Linked DNA regions of Homo sapiens: region 1 is linked to region 2. The links are contacts of gene promoters, found by promoter capture Hi-C in blood cells and fetal thymus (Javierre and others, 2016). All regions are on one chromosome and are shown on one strand. Each heading gives the region's core, a stretch centred on a gene start or on the middle of the fragment in contact. The rest is flanking DNA. Distances are from core to core; before and after follow the strand shown. Region 1 overlaps HSD17B2 (hydroxysteroid 17-beta dehydrogenase 2). Region 2 holds the start of MPHOSPH6 (M-phase phosphoprotein 6).

Region 1 (3,622 bases), core at 233-2,732, 130 kb after region 2:
GAGGAGATAATTGATACCACAGGAGCAGGTATGACTTTGCTGCTGGGTAGAGAATGCAGCCATATAAGAAGGTGGAGTAAAGACAGAGTCAGAGATTACCTTGGAGGAAGTGTAGGAAGAACCCGGAAGAGTCAAAGGACAAAGAAGCATGGAAATGCAGTTCCTGCAAGGCTAACGAGGCCATGAAAAGAAAGAAAGTATGGTCGGCAGTGCTGGAGCAGAAGTCAAGCTCTGGTGATTAGAAGGACACCAGTGACACTTAGAGAGCAGTTTCAGCAGACTGGTGGAAGCCAGTGGATGTTCTATTTGTGCCACATCCTGGGTAAGCAGGAGCACGCTTAGAACCAAATCAGCATAAAGCCTTGTCCAGGGCAAGCCAACAATTAAGTCACTACAGAACAATGGAGCTTCCAACAGCTCAGCCATGTCACTCTGCCCTTTTTATGCAAATGACCCCAGCAAAAAGAACAGCAAAGGTAAGTACCTAAGTGAGTGGGCAGATTGGGACAATCCTATTGTGTCCAACTAACGACCATGAAAAGGAGAGGACGTTTCACCCACATGGTTGGTTCACTCACTGTGCATTCGCTCATTAACACTGTGTTAGGCCTAACGTGCTGAGAGACTGAGAAGAGGCACATGGTCATAAAAAGAGACCTGGTTCCTGCCTTCAAGCCGCTTGCAGTATAGTTGGCATGGATTTCCATGCAGTCAGAATACTCCCCAGTCAAAACACTCCATCTATAATGCCTGATACAATCATTGTTCAAACTTTCACAAAATTACCCGGGTTATCAAAACCTTTTTTATGCTTCCCTGTAGTAGGTAAAGGTAAAACTTAAACCGCATGATAAGTGGGGACATTTGTTCATGTAAAAATCATCTGGTAGACTGAATTATAGACTCACTAAGGGCCATCCTTTCAACATCCACCATCACTTTGTTGCTCATGCTTCTCCAGCATCTATCTACAAATCTAACCAAGTTCTATTTCATTATTTCCAATTTCCAGTGACACTTCACTTGAACTACCCTTCACTGCTCTCAGACTCAGTTCTGAAGTCAAGCTTAGCACATGGCATGTCTCAAATCATCACCCTCTGCAAACATCCCTAGCCCTGTGTATGGTACTCTTATTTCATCATCCCTCATAAGCATCTTCTACACCCAATCAATTGCCAAGCTCTGTATTAAGCAGAGTCATGGGCACATAACAGATGTTCAATATTTACTTGTTGATTGAATGGACACGTTTTATATCCTGGGTAACCTTTGTGGTCTAATACCAACTATGGATCTAACACTTCTAATGACAGTGGTTAAGAGGATGGCTTTTGGTGAGAGATGGATCTGATCTGGGTTTAGTCCAATCTTGGCTACTTAGTAGCTCAGTGACTTTGGACGCATTTCCTTGTTTACAAATGTGAATTATTAGGGTTGTGAGAATCAAATATAAAATGCATGTAAAGGTTAGAGCACAGAGATGTTATTTCTCTTAGTCTCTTAGTCCACTGTCAATGTTTATCCATCTTAATAATCTAACGTGAAATCCAAAGGAGTCCAAACCCCAAGATGATACCCATGGTATTCAACTTGAGAACCTTATTTGGACTGTTCAGTAATTGCAAGAAGGGATGATCACTCACGTGAGACACTTTCTTGTGAGCATAAAATATTTTCACTGAAAACAGATCTTACTTCTCCTCCTGGATCCGTTCTCCAATATATCCAGTTTTGAAATTTTCAATTAAAAATTATCTAATGCAGCAAGCCTTATTGAGTGCTAGCTGTATTTGTTGTAGCTACTTAACCAATTAGGCTGGAATACCTTCTCACTTTCCCCCTAGAAAACTAATTTTAGATTCTTAACGAGGTCCCTCTTTTTTTGTCAAGCTTTCCCCAGCTCCACACACAAGACCTGTGTCTGCCTGGGATCCGCTTTGGGAATGAACCTGGAGGTTTCTTATGTGCCCCATCACACAGCCACAGTTGGGTGTGGCCGTGTCTTCCCCAGTGGTCCATGAAGCCCTGAGGTGTCTGCTCTGTACACAGTAGATGCTGAGTCGGTTCTCAATATTTGAGATGACTGGAGGGGGCAGGATGAAAGGCCAGAGGATAGAAACTTAAAGTTACCTGTGCATCTCCTGCCAAGCTTAGAGGGTAGGCTGAGAAGGACAACGTGTAACCTCAGAAGAGGGGGAAGGAACTCCAGTGAATGTGTGTCCAAGATGAAGGAAAAGTAGGAATTTTGATCCCATCGCTTGACAGTAATTTCCTGGTCTTAAAATTTTCTTCCCCCTTTGCTTCTGGAAAATGCATGGCACATACTGGGCCCTCAATGAATATTTATTGAGTGAATACATGAATGCTTCTTCTCTCTGTTTGTCAACGTTTTCTTTTGTTCTTTTTGTTCCTTCATGTTCTTCCTAACTACTCAAGCTTTCCCCTCACCACCCCAATACAGTCATTCTCTCTCTCTCTCTCTCTCCCTCTCTCTCTCTCTCTCTCTCATCTGCTAACTCCATCTATAGTAGTATAACATATGCAGGGGTGTGTGTGTGTTTGTGCGTGTGTGTGTGTGTGTGTGTGTGTATTATTTTCCATTTACAGAGGAGAAAACAGAGTCCCAAAATCCAAAACCGAGCACCAAAGTTTACACAGCTGTCCACACAGCTAGTAATAAAGATGCAGCAAATAAGATGCTATTCCCCCAGAACCCTCCCACTGTTGTGTGCATCAATCCATGGTGCACTTTGACTCCCAGCAGCCAGCACCTGCGATTCTTTCCCCAAAGGACCAGAACCCACTTTGCCAGCCAGTGTCCACATGGTGCCAGAAGTGCATGGAATTAAGTCTCCCCTCCTGCCCACAACCAAGGGGGAACAGGGGTGACTGCCCTTAACTAATGATTGACTGGTGTGAAGGCATAAAGACTACAGCTCTCTAGTCTCCAATTGGCACAGCTCTGATGAGTGATCCACACCACCCCACGTCCGCCCAGGGTGATCAAGCCCAAGTGATCTTCAGAGGACTTCTCAATGTCTCACCCTTACCTGGCTTCTTCCTTTTCCCTGCCCATCTTCTCTGGAAACCCTCCTAATAAATCTTTCCCACAAATCCTCACAGAAAGCACTGCCTCTGGGGACCTAGCCTAAGGCAAGGTAGATGCAGGATTCAAACCCAAGCCTGTGTGTCTTCAAAGTTTTTTCCCACTATGTTGTGGTTGAGATGTTATTACAATCGTGTTGGTCTGCTCTTTGTTCATTTTACAGTTATACATTTAAAATGCATCATACAACCCTGTCTCTACTAAAAATACAAAAATTAGCCCAACGTGGTAGCACGTGCCTGTAATCCCAGCTACTTGAGAGGCTGAGGCAGGAGAATCACTTGAACCCGGGAGGCAGAGGTTGCAGTGAGCTGAGATCATGCCACTGCACTCCAGCCTGGGCAACAGATTGAGACCCCATCTCAAAAAATAAAATGAAATAAAATAAAATAAAATGCATCACACATACATTTTAAATATTTGAATGGCCTCTGTGGTTTCAGGTATCTTGAAGACAAATATGTATTCAAACACTCTATGCTTGCTTACTTTTTCTTACTGTAATTATATTGT
Region 2 (3,341 bases), core at 30-2,529:
ACAACACGATGACAATACCTTCTTTCCGGTTCTTATGGGGATTAAGTGAACTAATTAGCCCTAAGGTGACCAGGTCAACAATCTGACGTAGAACTCATGGTATCAGCCGAGATGCTATTAGCTTGAGGGTGTTCCAAAGCGTCGGACCTGGGAATGGTTTTCGAAAACGTGTTTAGGTGGTACCCAGAGCATTAAACACCAGGGTAGGAACGCTACCCTATTTTCAGTGGTTTTTTAAATTCTTTTTTGTTTTGTTGTTTTGTTTTTGAGACAAAGCCTCACTCTGTAGCCCAGACTGGAGTCCAGTGGCGGGATGTCAGCTCACTGCAGCCTCGACGTCCCGGGTTCCAGTGATTCTCCAGCCTCAGCCTCCCAAGTAGTGGAGACCACAGATCCGTGCCACCACACCCAGCTATTTTTGTTGTATCTTTTGTACATTTTTTGTATATTTTGTATATATTTTTTGTATGTATATTTTGTATATTTTTTGTGTATATATATATATATATATATATATATTTTTTTTTTTTTTTTTTTTTTTTTTTTTTTTGTAGAGGTGGGGTCTCCCTATGTTGCCCCTCGCTATGGTCTTTTCAATTCTTTGGATCAAAACCAGGCTTTGTTCTCATTCATGTGTCTTTGGCACCCATCCCTGCCTCCATCCCTTGCCATTTCTTGAGATTCTTCTGTTTAGCAGAGATCACTCGGCCAGACACGCATCGGCAGCAGCCTGGGAATGAAGCCAGCCTGCCTGGGGCGGCCCCCGCCGCGCTCCCCCGGGACTCCGGGCTGCTGTGAGGAAAGCAGCAACTCGTGGGGTCCTGGTGAAGAGAAAACGACCTGGACCCTGCAAAGCGACCCAGAACAAAGGGAGCCCGCCACCCACGTTATGAAGACAAAACACGTGGGTAACACGGCCCAGGCGGGTGGCAGGCGTGGCGGAAACCTCTCTGAGGCTGGCGAGGACTACTGAGTGTGGAGGGGGTCCCTGAGGAAGGGAGTCCCCGAGGGAGGATGGGCCTCCGAGGGGGCCAGGCCGACGTCCCGGGAAGGCGACCCGCGGCTCGGGGAAGCCAAGTTCTGGGTCGTCCTCTGACTTCGGCTTTTTTGCGGTCTGCCGCGCTCATCCCCGCGCCCGCCACCCCGCGAGCTTACCCGAGCCTCTCAGTCAGCAGAGCGCCCGCTGAGTGGCCGCGCCCGCGCGCAAGACACAGGGGAGGGGCGGGGCGGGGCGGCGCGCACTACGCGAGGGACGCAGCTGCGCACGCGGCTCCGCGCATGTGCGGTGAGGCTCGCGGCCGGAGTGCGGCGCTGGGCGGAAGCTACCATGGCGGCCGAGCGAAAGACAAGGTTGTCCAAGAATCTACTGCGCATGAAGGTGCGGGGACGCTGAGAGCGCCACTCCGGGCGGTAGGGGCACCCGGTCCTTCCAACCTGGCCGGGGCCGAGGCGGCGGGCGGACAAGGGACACCAGAGAGGCCTCAGAGGGCTTCCAGCTCTCGTGCTCATTCATTCACTTAGCGCCTGCTCTGCACTGTTTACTGGGAACCAGCTTACGAATTAGGCCGACTCTCTCAGGAGGCCCGCGGGCGGATGGGAGCTTGAGTACACAGAAGCAGTCAGGGTACAGCTTACCCAGTGCAGTGAGGGTAGAAGCGCTGGGGACCTTGGGGACTCACCGAGCTTCTCGAGAAGTTGTTGCTTACTTATATATGCAATAAATATGATATATGGGAAGTGTAACTCCTTAGCTGGGTAATTTAGGTAAATTCACTTCTTTCTCTGAATATCTCTTTTCCTCATCTTTAAAAAGAAGAGCATTAGGCTACATGAGTTCAAGCTCCTTTTTAATTTTGATAATACTTCTTTTAGTAGAGTTCTTCAGAGAAACAGAATCAACAAGATGTATATGTGTATATATGTGTATGGAGAGAGGGGGTATTTTTAAAACTGGATCACACGACTGTGGAGATGCAAGTCTAAAATCTGCAGGGTGGGCCAGTAGGCTGGAGACCCAGAGAAGTACTCAGTCCAAGTCCAAAGACAGTCTGCTGGCAGAACTCCCTCTTCTTCCAGGGAGAAGAGGGTGAGTCTCGCAGGGTAGTCTCTAGGTTACTGGGAGGGTGGAAGGCACAGCGTCCTAAACTAGGAGAAACTGAGTTCAGAAGTCTGAGAGGCAAGAAAGAAAAAGAAAACCATGGAAATTTCCAAGAATTAGAGACAATTCAGTATGTCTGGAAGGCAAGTACTAAGAAATGGGGTTGCAGAGTAGGCAATGGTCACAACGTGCAGGGAATTTGAGGCCAGATTAAAGATATTTTCCTTTATTTTGTGAGCAATGGAAAGCTATTGAAACGGGGAACAGTATCAAGAAAATGGCAAATATTTATAGTACTAGACAATGATTGAAGTGGTTTGCGTATATTAACCTATGCAATTCACATAATGACACTTTGAGGTGACTACAGGCAGTAACTCTCTTCTTACAGCTAAGGCAACTGAAACAGAAATAAGTAATTTACCCAAAGTTACACAGCTAATAAGTAGTGTAGACAGGACGGGAATTCAGGCAGTCTGGCTCCAGAACCCTGGCTCTTTATTACTACTCTGTACTCTGTGATGCCTGTCACTAAGCACTACTTCTAGAGAGTAGCAAACTGTTACATGTCATGTTTAAAGAGGTGGAATTTCCAAAAGAGGGAAGGAAGCATTCATAATGTTTTGAAAGATAGGCCATTCGCAGTGGCTCATGCCTGTAGTCCCAGCACTTTGAGAGGCTGAGGTAGACAAATCGCTTAAGCCCAGGTGTTTGAGACCATCCTGGGCAACATGGTGAAACCCCATCTCTACAAAAAATACAAAATATTAGCCAGGCCTAGTGGCACGCACCTTTAGTCCCAGCTACTTGGGAGGCTGAGGTGGGAGGATCACTTGAGCTTGGGAGATCAAGGCTGCAGTGAGCTGAGATGGCGCCACTGCACTCCAGCCTTGGTGACACAGGGAGACCCTGTCTCAAAAAAAAAAAAAAAAGAGAGAGAGTAAACATTATATGGGCAAGATTTGAATGGAGTTGAGCTAGGATGGAGTTAGGGATGAATGGGTGAATGAGGGTGGAGGACAAATTGCAGCATAACTTAGAGTTTGTCAAGCACTTTCATGCATATTAGCAAAATTTGAATCTTTACTGAACAGAGTTTGATTTTATGGTTGGTAATAACATTAACTTCAGAGAAGTGGAGTGAATTGGCCAAGCAGATATTGGAAAGATTTTAGCAGTTGTTTTAGCTCTTGGAATAAGCCAGATGATGTACTGGGTGACTCAGGCTCAAACTAAATATCCG

Evidence for each region. The method cuts DNA at HindIII sites, captures the fragments that hold promoters and counts their contacts. A CHiCAGO score of 5 or more calls a contact.
Region 1: a fragment that was not itself captured here is called in contact with the fragment with the promoter of MPHOSPH6 in region 2 in 4 of 17 cell types (M2 macrophages, monocytes, M1 macrophages and 1 more); the score reaches 7.0 in M2 macrophages.

Annotation. Positions count from the first base shown.
Region 1 is chr16:82,038,219-82,041,840 of GRCh38, reverse strand. All of the region lies in intron 1 of HSD17B2 (hydroxysteroid 17-beta dehydrogenase 2), which reads right to left. Among named protein-coding and RNA genes, the nearest start is that of HSD17B2, 4.8 kb to the right of the region's middle. The HindIII fragment of the contact is 826 bases long and covers 1,070-1,895 here.
Region 2 is chr16:82,168,162-82,171,502 of GRCh38, reverse strand. MPHOSPH6 (M-phase phosphoprotein 6) reads left to right here and starts at 1,279. Exons shown (of 5, transcript NM_005792.2): 1 at 1,279-1,378. The coding sequence starts at 1,328. RefSeq lists a silencer at 1,144-1,303, a cis regulatory region at 1,350 and an enhancer at 1,278-1,422. The HindIII fragment of the contact is 21,548 bases long and covers 1-3,341 here.